Linked DNA regions of Homo sapiens: regions 1 and 3 are each linked to region 2. The links are contacts of gene promoters, found by promoter capture Hi-C in blood cells and fetal thymus (Javierre and others, 2016). All regions are on one chromosome and are shown on one strand. The core of a region is centred on a gene start or on the middle of the fragment in contact, and the rest is flanking DNA. Distances in the headings are between cores, read along the strand shown. Region 1 overlaps GALK2 (galactokinase 2). Region 2 holds the start of ATP8B4 (ATPase phospholipid transporting 8B4 (putative)). Region 3 overlaps GALK2 (galactokinase 2).

Region 1 (4,319 bases), core at 546-3,045, 890 kb after region 2:
GCACTTCCCACCTCTCTCTCTTCCTCCTGGCTCTGGCCATGTAGACATGCCTGCTTCCCCTTTGCCTTCCACCATGCTTGTAAGTTTCCTGAGGCCTCCCTAGCCATGCTTCCTGTACACCTGTAGAATTGTGAGTCAATTAAACCTCTTTTCCTTATAAATCACTCAGTCTCAGGTATTTCTTTATAGCAGTGCAAGAATGAACTAATATGGAAAATTGGTAACAAGGACAGGGGCATTGGTATAAAGATACCTGAAAATGTGAATTTGCATTTGGAACTGGGTAACAGGTAGAGGTTGGACCAATTTGGAGGGCTGAGAAAAAGACAGGAAGATGAGGAAAATTTGTAACTTCCTAGAGACTTGTTGAACGGTTGCTTTGAAAATCCTGATAGTGATATGGACAATGAAATCCCAGCTAAGAAGGTCTCAGATGAAAATGAGGAACTTCTTGGGAACTAGTGTAAAGGTCATTTTTGTTATGCATTAACAAAGAGCCTGGAGGCATCTAGGGGTATGTGGAACTTTGAACTTGAGAGTGATGGTTTAGGTTACTGACAGGAGAAATTTCTAAGCAGCAAAGCAGTCAAGATATAGCCTGCTGCTTCTAACAACCTATGTTCATATGCGTGAGCAAAGAAATGACCTGAAACTGAAACTTATATTTAAAAGGGAAGCAAAGTGTACGAGTTTGAAAAATTTGAAGGCTGGCCATGTGGTAGAAAAGAAAAGGCCTTTTTGGAGGAGGAGTTCAAGCCAGCTACAGAAATTTGCATAAGTAAAGAATAGTCAAATGCTGATGGCCAAGACAAAGGGGAAAAGACTTTCAAAGCATTTCAGAAACCTTTGCAGCAGTTCCTTCCATCACAGGCATGTAGGTCTAAGAAGGAAGAATGGTTTCATGAACAGGGACCAGGGTCCCACTTCCCTGCACAGGCTCAAGACACTGCTCCCCATATCCTGACCCCTCTGCCTCCAGGGGTGGCTGAAAGGACTTCAGATACAGCTCAGGCTGCTGCTTCAGAATGTGCAAGCCATAAAACTTGGTGTTTCTATGAGGTGTTTAGCCTGCCAATGTTCAGAGTGCAAGAGTTAAGGCTTCGGGAGCCTCTGCCTAGATTTCAGAGTATGTGTAGAAAAGCCTAAATGTCTAGGCAGAACCCTGCTGCAGGAGCAGAGCCGTCATGGAGAATCTCTACTAGGGCAGTACTGAAGGGAAATCTGGGGTTGAATCCCTCACACAGAGCCCCACTGGGGCACTACCTAGTGGAGCTGTGAGAAGAGGGCCATTGTCTTCGAGACTGCAGAATGGTAGATCAACCAGGAGCTTGTACCATGCACATGTAAAAGCCGCAGGTGCATGAACACTAGCCCATGAAAGCAGCCTCAGGGGCTTTACTTTGCAAAGCCTCAGAGGTGCAGCTTCCCAACCTTAGGAGCCCACCCCTTGCCCCAGTGTGCCCTGGAAGTGAGATGTGGAATCAAAGGAGATTATTTGGAGCTTTAAGATTTAATGACTCCCTTGCTGGGTTTCAAACTTACATGGGGCCTGTAGCCCCTTTCTTTTGGCTAATTTCTCCCTTTTGGAAAAGAAGTATTTACCCAGTGCCTGTACCCTCACTGTATGTTGGAAGTAATAACTAACCCATTTTTTATTTTACAGGCTTATAGGCAGAAGGGACTTGCCTTGTCTCAGATGAGATTTTGGACTGTGGACTTGTAAGTTAATGCTGGAATGAGTTAAGACTCTGAGGACTGTTGAGAAGGATGACTGAATTTTGGAATGTGAGTACCTGAGACTTGGGAGGGGCCAGGGACAGAATAATATGGTTTGGATTTGTGTCTCTGCCCAAATCTCATGTCAAATTATAATCCCCAGTTTTGGAAGTGGGGTCTGGTGGAAAGTGATTGGATCACAGAGGTGGATTTCCCCCTTTGGTACTCTTCTCGTGATACAGTTCTCACTTGACTTGGTTGTGTAAAAAGTGTGTAGCTGCCCCCAGCCCTCTGCCTCCTGCTCCACTCATGTAAGACATGCCTGCTTCTCCTTTGCTTTCCACCATGTTTGTAATTTGCCTGAGGCCTCCGCAGCCATGCTTCCTGTATATCCTGTAGAGAATCATGAGCCATTTATACCTCTTTTATTTATAAATTACCCAGTCTCAGGTATTTCTTTATAGCAGTGTAAGAATGGACTAATACAAACTGAAAAGTGCCAGCTCCCACAGAATTAGAAGTATGGCTCAAGTCTGTCAGAAAAAAACAAAAAAAAACTGCTTTTTGATTAGTTATTGATCTTTGCTCTTTCCCACATCCCTATCTCACCTCTCTACCTAGCCTTTTCCTGAGGTTCAAAACCACTCATTTTCCCACCAATTCTCAACCCTGCATTACATTATCCATTTGCTTTCTCTACCCCCACTTCCATGTTTGTAGAATTCTGAGAAAAGAATCCTGAAAATGAGCAGACATGACCCATTATTACATTAATACTTTCCACTTACATATTTTATTCATTTACTTGTTCTTCAAAGAAACATCTGCCCAGTGTCTACCCTGTGTGTGTCTGGACCTGGGGTAGGTAGACCATTATAAGACACCTGTGTGTGTCTGGATCTGGGGTAGACCATTTATAATAAGAGTAGCATCAAAAAAAATATGAAGTCGGAGGCACAGAAGAATGCCTGTAGGCATCTGGTACTTGCCTCCTCCATAAAGAAGAACCAAAATAACAAGTTGACAATCATAGTTAGAATAGATCATGTAAGAGAGAACACTGAATTCAACAAGAAGTGACAAGGAACACCTAAGGCAAGGAAGGAGAGGAAATCAGGGCAGCCTGCTCAGCCAGAATCAGCTGGGAGCCTGGAGAGGCTCTTCAGCGTGGGTAAAGGGCAAGAGAAACACCCCAAGTGGTCCACATTACTATCAAGGACTCCTGCAATCCTAGCCATAGGAGAGCGCCTCAACCCTTTAGGACCATGCGACTGACAGAGGAACTACTTGGAAATCACATGATGGCATTGCTCCAAAGAGGAAATTCATGCTGGGTTCCACACACCCCCAAGTCTTAAGCAACTTGCACATCACTATCCTGAGATCCCAGACTCTACTAGACCGCATCCTGCCATGGGGATCAACAGCTCCTGTCTCCACATCCTTGCAACCTCTCTGATGTCCCCTACCCACAGACACCACGAGTGCTAACTGCTGTTGTCAGAGCCAAAATGTAAGCCACTGGCAATAACTACAATACTCCCAGCAGTGGGACTGCTGTGTATTTTCACGAGCCCTAAATACAGACTCCCTCACTCACAGCAACTTCCATTGCACTGCTGAGGCCAAACCATGAGCCACTGGCAGAACCCTGGTATTCACAGCAGCAGAGCCACCATGGATTTTCAAGTGCCCCGAGGAAACGCTACCCCACCTGCAGCCACTACCTGGAGCCAAAGTGCATGCTCCCCAGCCAATTGTCTACGACTGCTGCCAGTAAAAGCAACCCCACTCTCCCCCGCAGCTGGGCCACATCACAGCCACTGCCACCACCACCTGGGCATTCCACTAGGTGGCTTGGTTCACTCTACTACTGCCTACCACTTGCATACACCACCAGGAGGCCTGAGGATAGGCCCGCCCTGCCAGACTCCACCCCTATGCCTAAGCATACAATCCAGGGTACTAAGAATGGCTGTGACCAATCTACCACCATTGGCACCTGAATACTCTCCCAGAGACCTAAAGATGAGCCCACCCAACGTACTACTACTACCACAGCTAGCTTCCACCTGCATGCAACACCTGTGGCACAGGGGACCAACTCACCCAGCCTAATACAGCCACCAACAACAATGCAGAATGCTTTGGAGCCAGAGGGTTGTTCTACTACTGCTACTGCCATCACACAGGTGACACTAACTACCCAGGGGTCCAAGGACCCAGCCACTCACCCAGCTCACTGCTACAACTGCCAGGATCCACAGTCTCCAACAACAACCATATCCTAAGTCACTGAGGAAATCAGAGACCAGTGATACTGTTTATAGCCAAAGGAATTATACAGAGACTACAATACTACAAGTGCCAAGAATCAATGCCAACATGCCAACCCAACCAATATCATAGGTACATCTTTGAGAAAAAGTCACTGTCTATAAAAGCAAATTCAAAAACTTGGAAGAAGCAAAACAATTCACCAGCAACAGATTCCAATGACAAAGAAATTTATTAAATTCCAGAAATAGAATTCAAAGTAATGACATTTAAAAAGCTCAGTGAAGCTGGGTGTGGTGGTTCACACCTGTAATCCCAGCACTTTG
Region 2 (4,412 bases), core at 1,815-4,314:
TCTATGTCCCACAAAGTGTCTAGCAGAGTATTTGCATTTGTTGAATGAAAATATGTTAGATCAATTTCTTCCAACTGTAGATTTCAAACTATAGGCCAGGCCATCCCACTTGTTACAGGTAGTTAATCTGTTTATCTAAAACCATAATTCATTGGCTTTCTTAGCTATCTTGGCAGTTAGGCAAGAGATATTTACAGGTTCTAAGAAACATAAGATGCTATTTATTCCGTTGTATATTAGACTTATAGTTGTGTGGTTTCAGATTCTTAAGAATAAAAATTTCCATCTCTTCGTTTTGATGAAATGTGTGTAAAGTTGGAGAACAAGGTAAAAGAGTGAGTAAATTCAGAATTCTTTTTTTCTCTCAAATGCTCAGATACTTAATTAAAATTCCTTTAATATGATCACGAGATTTTTGTCAGGACAAGTTGAGATGATCCTTGAGAAAGCACTTTGAAAACTCTAGACTACAGACATAAAGGACGTTTGTCAAAAGTAAGGCTTTAAAACAAAATAAGGCCTCTTGAAAACACAGACCTGGCGTTCTGACAGTGCACATACTGCCTAATAGGGATGAAAGTTTAAGCTCTGTTTAGCTACCTTTGTATAATGGGAATAAAAGGTTTTTTTTTTCTTGTATCCTAAATCGAGAATTTAAACTGTTTTCTGATTAGCAAGGGTTTGCAGTCACACTAGTAATAGTCCTCTATAAGATGGACATCCTTCTCTGTTCCCCGTCTTTCTACTCCTTATGAAGAAAAAGTAGAAATTTTTGAAAAAGTTGTGCTAGGTATACATAACATGACATTTATCATTTTAACTACCTTTAAGTGTACAGTTCAGTGGCTTTAAGTACATTCACAGTGTTGTATAACTATCACCATTATCCATCTCCAGGACTTTTCCATCATCCCAATCTGAAACCCTGTACCCATTAAACAATACCTTCCCATACTCTCTTCCTGCAGCCCTTGGTAGCCTCTACTCTTTCTGTCTCTGTGAATTCACCTATTCTTCTTGCTGAGCCTTGCTGTTATCATTATTCATTCGACATTATTCATTATTCATGAGTGCTTATTATGGACACCAGGAGTTCAACAGTAAACAAAAGTCCCTGCTCTCAAGGAGCTTTTATTTTAGTGGGAGGGAGACAATAAACAGCGAGCACATTTAAAATATTTTTTAAAAATGAGATTATCTTATACACAATTCTTCTGCAACTTGATCTTTTCACTTGACAGTACATCTTGGACATCTTTTTCTATGTCAGTCTGAAGAGGCCTATCTCTTATTTATAATAGCTAAATTTATTGAGTCTCTACTTTGCTCCAGGCACTGTTTTAGTTGCAACAATCCTATGAGGTAAGTTCTATAATGATCATCTTTTTACAGATGGCCCAGATAAGTGTAGGAGCTTGCATAGTCACCTGGCCAGTCACTGGTGGAGACAGAACTAAACTCAGATGACCTGATTCCTTACTCCAATTCTACCCTCTTTTGAATGGCTACATAGTACTCTTTTGTATCAATATACCTTAACTTATTTAGGCAGTCTCTTATATGTAAGCCATTTTTAGGTGTTTTTTTGTTGTTGCTATCATAGTGCTATAATTAACATATTTAGAGATATGTTTGCACGTGTGTGTGGTTTTCTATAAGGTAAATTCCTAAGAAATAAAAACACATACACATTTCAATACTTGATAGGCACTACTATACTCAGTTTCCTTTAAAAAATATTTTACCAATTTATATTCCCACTAACAGTATAGGAAAAGGAAAAGGCCCTGATTTCCTTATATCTTCTTTAACAAAGGGAATTACCAAACTTATATTTGCCCCATATGATAGGTTTAAAAATGGTATAGAGGTGATACTTAAAAATGTTTTTCACTTAAAAGTGTTTTTTATTTTAAATATTTTAAAGAGATGATTGCTTCCTGCTCTAAGCTGTTCTTGGTCCTCTTTTATCATGTAAGAAAGAAAGCCATCTCTCTTATTTCCAGAAATCTGTAGTTTCTTGTTACTGTGGAACCTTGGTAGGAAAAGGCCCTTGTTTCTGTGAAAACCTGAGGGCCCAGCGTGAGGATGTTCCAGGAGAGTGGAGTTGATGGTGCGCAGGGGATTAGCTTGCTCTGGTTATAGAGACATGATTAAAATCTATTTGATTTCAGTACTTAACTGGCAAATCTGATGCAACTTCTGGAAAATTCCTAGATGGCTTTAGGCATATTTAAAAGAAGCCATATTTTTCCTTTTAAAAATAGATATGCACCAAAATATTTTATTTTCATCTAATCCCGCTTTAACAACCAGAATCCCCTTAAAAGCAATTCCAAACTAAAAGATGTAAATCCATTTCCTATGTGCATTTGTTCTTTGGTACCATCAGGGTTAATGTTTGCATCCTCTGTGCTGAAATTAAGGATGTTGGGAAAGAAGTGTCATTGCTTTGCCTACTAAATGTCACTTGAGTATGCTTAGCTTTCATCCATAAGAGAGCTGAACTTCCCCTGTAAAAAAAAAAAAAAAAAAAAAAAAAAAGTGACAAAAACCCACTGCTGATTCTTTCATCTCTGCAAAAGCAGGTGGGAACTGCAAACAGATTTGCTTATCTTCCTCAGTCAAGGGCTGGTAAAAGTTTGGTAAGTAGGCCTGGTAGCCGGTGTCCCCTTCCATTGTTCATTTTCATCCTCCTGAATTCTTGATTCCCACAGAGGAAGCCATCCTCAGAAGCCAGCCTCTTGGGAGTTTCCTTTTGTTTCCCCAAGATTAACCAGTTCTGTCCTGTCAGCAGGAGCAGGCAACTAGGGGAGGAGAGGCTCTTCAGGGCTTTCAGCATTTTTCCAAGGAGTGCTTTTCTCCCTCAATTCCTCACTGACAGTGAAGCTGCTTTCTTGTAAGGTCTTCCTCTTCTTCTGATGAGATGCTGATTCTGATTGCCATCTAGCAGCTTCCGGTGGTGGTAAGTGGTCAAGAGTGTTTTTCCAGGAGTTGATCTCAGGTTTTTGAGAATGCCCCCTAGAGACCCAGTTTGTTTTCTGTATCATCCCTCAAGCTTTCAGAGTAGCCTTGCTTTTCTCCTTGGCATGGTCACGGAATGGATACCTGTTTGATCTTCCTGCACTGCTGAGAAATCTTCCTTTTGGGGGAGAGGATTAAGTCTGGGTTGAGGTGAGTAGATGGGTAGCATTCAATGGTTAGTGAGATGAAGTGGAAATTTAGCTGTGGGCTGGTTGGAACGATCTGTTTCTTTTCTCCAGATCCCTATTTTGTTTTGCTGTTTTCATCTTGGTGACTAAGGTTTCACAAATATTCTTTATTATTCCCCTTTTGCTAAAAAATAAATTTGGGGGAGTTAGTTGGAAATGGGAGATGTGACATTTTCTTTTTTGTTGTTTGAAATGTCTATTTTTTACTCTGTTAGCATGCCTATTAAATGACCAATGATAGTAGCATAAAGGTACATTTCTTCTTGGTTTGTAGGTCTTTGTCACTTCCTTTGGTAGTAGTTGGTTTTATTTTTTTCACGGGGTTTGTATACAGTGCACCTATTCAATATATTGTTTATGGTCAATTTATGCTTTAGACATGAACAGTTTGCACTGAGCTATCCCTCTGAGGTTTGAGGGTTATGTTTTTAGTGCTAAAATTTGTCTGAACAGAAAAAGGTATCCTTCTAGTTGTTTTGTTTATAGGCAAGAGAGTGTCTCAGGTCCCTGGTTAACAATTAGCTGTTTTGAAGAAAAGAAAACTGGTGAAAAACATTAATTGGAAGCTGAAGTCTTGTTAGAAAGTAAATGAGGAAACACAGGTTTTCTTGTGGGATTACCAACACCTGTGCCCATGAAGTATCCCCTTTTACTCAGCTGTTGCTCCATGCTGGCCTTTACTACAAAATGTAAACTCAGAGTGATTTCAGTTTTGATTTTTTTAAATGTATTTTTTATTTTTTATGTGATATGTAATAACTGCACATATTTATGGGGTACATGTGATATTTTGGTATATGCATACGATGTGTAATTAGCATATATATCACCTCAAACATTTACCATTTCTTTGTGTTGGGAACATTCCAAATCTGCTAGCTATTTTGAGATACAATAAATTATCATTATCTATATCGTTTATTTTATCGTTTATATCTATATCGTTTATTATAAATAAAAAATAAATTATCATTATCTATTGTCATACTACCGTGTTATCAAATACTAGAACCTGTTCCTTCTATCTGACTGTATGTTTGTACCCATTAACCAGCCTACCTTCACCCCCTTCTTCCTCTTCCCCTTCCTAACCTCTGGTAACCACCATTCTCCCTCTCTACCTTCATGAGATCAACTTTTTTAGCTCCCACATATGACAGAGGATATGTGATATTTGTCTTTCTGTGCCTGGCTTATTTT
Region 3 (4,274 bases), core at 1,502-4,001, 830 kb after region 2:
TACTTCCTGTTTACTATATGTCTCTTTGAAAATGGCATTATATGGGCATTTGGGGTAAAGTCCTAAATTTGAAATGAAAACCTCATTGGTGACTTTATGGGAAGCACTTCATTAGGTCACTGGTGGTAGTAGAGCTATATGTTCCTCTACCCTCAAGAAAAAGAGTTTGGCTTCTAACTGCATCCTGAGGTACCTCCTCAATCTGACAGTGCGGGTTAAGTACAAACCAAATCTGTAACCACCCATGGGAACCCCAATCCAGAATATATTTCTGTCATTCTCCCCAAGCAATATCAGAGTAGGTGGCAATCAAAACAGTGAGGATTTCTCTTATCCTGAGGTCTACAATATTCATTGCCTGGGTGTGAAGACAGAGGGGCATTTTAAGCAGCAAAAAGAAACAAGAGAAGGGGAAATCAGTCTTCAAGAAAATGTGCATCTGATTTACTCTTCCATTATGTTGATGATTTTCTCTTTTTGACAGGAAGCGGGGTTTACCAAAAGACTATTGTACTCTGGTTACAGCCACTGACTTCTGAAGAATGTTAATAACAGAAGTTCTTATATTAATTTAATCCTCTTTTTAAAACCCTGGCTCGTATATTTGAAATGAGTTAATGATTTTAAGGCCAAACTGGGAAACAAAACAATAGAACTATGATTTTCGGTTCAATTATTTCATGGAACATGGTGTCATTTAAAACAAAAAACAAAAAGCAAAAAAAAAAAATGGCGAAACCTTGTCTCTACTAAAAATACAAAAATTAGCTGGGCGTGGTGGCATGTGCCTGACATCCCAGCTACTCAGGAGGCTGAGGAATGAAAATTGCTTGAACCCAGGAGGCAGAGGTTGCAGTGAGCGGAAGTCATGCCACTGTGCTCCGGCCTGGGTGATGAAGTGAGACTCGGTCTCAAAAAAACAAAACAAAACAAAAAAACAAAGTAACTCAACTAGTTAATAACAGAGTTGGAAACTGAATCCAGGTCTTATAACTCTTTCTTGCTGCCCCTAGGCCACGTTCTCAATGAGGTATGCATGATAACTATATCATGTTACCCACATGAATTAAAATCACCGATCAAGTCTTAGAAACGCATTTCAAAACACAAACCTAGATCTGTGCTAGAAGTGAACATTCCAGTAATTTAAAAACACTTTGATAAATGGGTTCCTTCCAAACAAAAAAAGAAAAACATCACAGAACTGCCCCCAAGAGATGACAGTGGGCTCTTCCTAAGAAGCTTTCAGTCCACAGTAATCTCCAAGTTCCCATTCCCATTCTCTCTTGAACCAGTCACATTGCCCCAGGCACTTGATCCAAGAAAACTGGGCCAGTGATGTGTGGGGAGAAAGTCTGCAAGGGATGGCTACAGCCCACAAGATTCAGTTTTCAAAGGCAGCCTCCTGATGTGCTCTTCTGCAGATTGAGGCACTAACATAGAGTTCACATTCACTCCAGCAATATCCCACTTTACTGTGACACCAGTTGTCCAGTGAGCCCTCAGCTGGAGAATCCACACAGCCAATTTGGTGTGTATTTCAATTAAGGATGAAATCTACCATATGCCCTCAATGACAGCTGCACAGCCCGTGAGCTGTTGAATTACACTACATTGAGGGAGTCAAATAGAAAAGCCTCTTAAGCCCTTTGAAATTTGGCTTGAAAAACAGAAAGATGACTTTCAGATGAAGGAAATGGGTGGATAAGATCACCATTGTTCAAAGACAGAGCTTCATGGAGGCACTTGTGGCCCAGGTGACTGGCCTCCTTCACATTTGTGAAGCAGGGCTATAAGTCAGGGCTATAGGTTATTTTGTCACAACTTTCTCACTCAGTAGTAGGGTGGGGAAATAAGAGAAGGCAGTTCTTTGTCCACATTCACCACTTTCTTTTCACCATGGCAAACATTAAGTATTCCTATCAGATACCACTTCTGAGAGGTTCCTGAGCTCTGTTCCATGCTCTGTGGACAAAAAAGCAGGCAACAAGTGCTTTGTCCACAGTCATGGAAAGAGGCACTGATAAATGGTGCTAAAACTCTGTTTTAGGTTGGTTTCTCTCAGACGCAGGCCCTGTGACAAAAATTTGAGGGTAAGAATTTGAGGGGAAGGTGATCCTAAGAAGCATTAAGAGAGGAATGGAAAGTGAAACAGGAAAAGACGCCAATATGAGGTGTACTGATATTGGCAGGTGAGTCTGGGCCCGCTGAGCTTCAAATCACAGGTTCTCAGGAACCTGTATGTGTAAAGCTCAGTCATGTCCCACCATGGGCAAGAAAGCCAAAGTATTTACCCAATAACTCCCAGTTACCACTGATTGAGGTGGCTCTCAAGGATATTAACTCCCTAGCACTTTCAGGTTGTCCCAGACACAAACAAAAATACTAAGCCCTCTGTTCTTGGTCTGAGACTCCCTGGGTCTTCTGGTAAGAGGGTATGGTAGAGAAAGTGTTAAGATATTCATGAAGAATTCTCATCATCTCCTACTTTTTAGTCAACTTCTAGTCCATCCTGCCTTCTCAAAACCTATCAATGGCAGCACTATGCTTTTCACCAACCATTGCACCTTGAAGCTGCAGCCCTTATTGACTCAACACCTTTTCTTCATTTCCTTCATTCATGTGCATCTGCTCACAGTGAGTGTCTACTGAGTGCCTATTACTTCCCAGGCTCCAGGCAGACAGCAGTGAGTAAGGCACACATGGCTCCTGACCACGTGCAGCTCACAGCCCACCAGAAAAGACAGAGGTTAAATTAAAACTACATTTATCATAAAGAACTTAATCCAATTATGATAAACTGCTATAATAGAAAAATACAGGACATGGTAAGAGCACATAAAAGAGTGTTTCACCTAACTGAGGTCAGGAGGTAGTCAAGGAAAACTTCCTCAAAGTAATGAAGTATATGCCAGAAGGAAAACAAAAATCCAATCACAGAGAGCCTGTACCCAACCCTTACTAGGTCCAGTCAGAGCTTCTCTCACATCTCTCCCTTTTTATCCCATCCTCACTGATACTCTAGTACCTACTTCTCTTCAACCAAGGCAAAAGCTCCTGCTGTCATATTAATATTTCTAAAATACCTTGCTAACAACCACTGCTTTCAAAGCCAAGCCTGGGTAAGGCTGAGCATAGCACTGAAGGTCCTGCCACAATCTGGTTCCACTAAACACATTACCCCTATTCCCCAGTATGTATGTCCTCTGCCATGCAGCTCGGACTCACCATTGCCTGAATACTCCATGCCAGAGTCTTGGCAGAGTATGCACTATTGAATCAACTGGCTGCGTGAAATTGGCTACATTCTTGAGTATTTGGTTTTTCTCTGCTCAAATTCAAGGAAACTGCCAAAACCCTGAGACTATTATGCCAACTTCTCCTCCCATTCTATCACCAGACAAAGAATAAGTTTCATACCAACTACTAAATGAAAGGAGCTGAAAAACTGGGTGACTGATGGCCCCTGACCAGACAGGCCCTGTAAAGAATCACTGTAAATTTTCCTTGAAGTGTCAAAGGAACATATGAAACTCTCTCTTTCACTGCTTCTCATGTTGCCACAAGGAGCTCAGGGTATGCAAAAAGCAACAGTATAATTTCTCTTCCCTACCTGACTTCCCATAATACTTATCATGGGTATCACACATTTTATTCTTCAACATAACTAAGGGATACTGTATAAGAAAAGCACTTCTGGAAACATTTAAGCCCCAAATGTGTGTAAAATATGAAAAATGTTGTACCTACTAAAGATCCTTGGCTACTTTATCATAAAAATGTGCTTCATTAAGATATCATTTATACAAGTAGTAATTATAAATCTCGAGTTTGCTTTGAAAAATTTTTAATTTTAGTCAAATGCTCTACAAGGCTCTGACTTTTTATGAATTTGCATGAATTAGCTTTTGAAAGCTGATGGAGAGAAAGAGACAGAGACAGAGAAACAAGATGAGAAAGAAGTTGAGAATAGAAGAAATTGCTAGCATTAATGCAAAACAAAGAAAAATTGTCTTTACTGGTTTAGTGTACTTCTCTGTGTTAACTTGATTAAAAAAAGGTACTCATTTTCAAAAAAGGATCTGAGAAAAATAGGAAGAAAGGAAAAATAAATGTTCTTCATTACAACTTTGCCATGTGGAGCCCTAGCTGATCAGTCTCAGTCTCATTTTCAAAACTATCTTGATTAGCCATTCTTCAACTGACACTTCATTATTGTTGTTGGAAAACAGAAAGTTTGGTCAGATTGAGATAAGCTTTTTTTTAAACTTTTT

What was found. Contacts are between HindIII fragments. The CHiCAGO score rates a contact against its expected background, and 5 or more counts as called.
Region 1: a contact is called between a fragment that was not itself captured here and the fragment with the promoter of ATP8B4 in region 2, in 5 of 17 cell types (monocytes, M1 macrophages, megakaryocytes and 2 more). The highest score is 6.9, in monocytes.
Region 3: a contact is called between a fragment that was not itself captured here and the fragment with the promoter of ATP8B4 in region 2, in 1 of 17 cell types (erythroblasts). The highest score is 5.1, in erythroblasts.

The regions. Positions count from the first base shown.
Region 1 is chr15:49,228,954-49,233,272 of GRCh38, reverse strand. The region is part of intron 3 of GALK2 (galactokinase 2); the gene reads right to left. Among named protein-coding and RNA genes, the nearest start is that of GALK2, 61 kb to the right of the region's middle. RefSeq lists enhancers at 355-1,025, 1,026-1,697. The HindIII fragment of the contact is 9,875 bases long and covers 1-4,319 here.
Region 2 is chr15:50,117,885-50,122,296 of GRCh38, reverse strand. It overlaps ATP8B4 (ATPase phospholipid transporting 8B4 (putative)), which reads left to right and starts at 3,064. Exons shown (of 28, transcript NM_024837.4): 1 at 3,064-3,174. The HindIII fragment of the contact is 5,193 bases long and covers 3,061-4,412 here.
Region 3 is chr15:49,287,613-49,291,886 of GRCh38, reverse strand. All of the region lies in intron 7 of GALK2 (galactokinase 2), which reads right to left. Among named protein-coding and RNA genes, the nearest start is that of GALK2, 120 kb to the right of the region's middle. The HindIII fragment of the contact is 3,014 bases long and covers 1,245-4,258 here.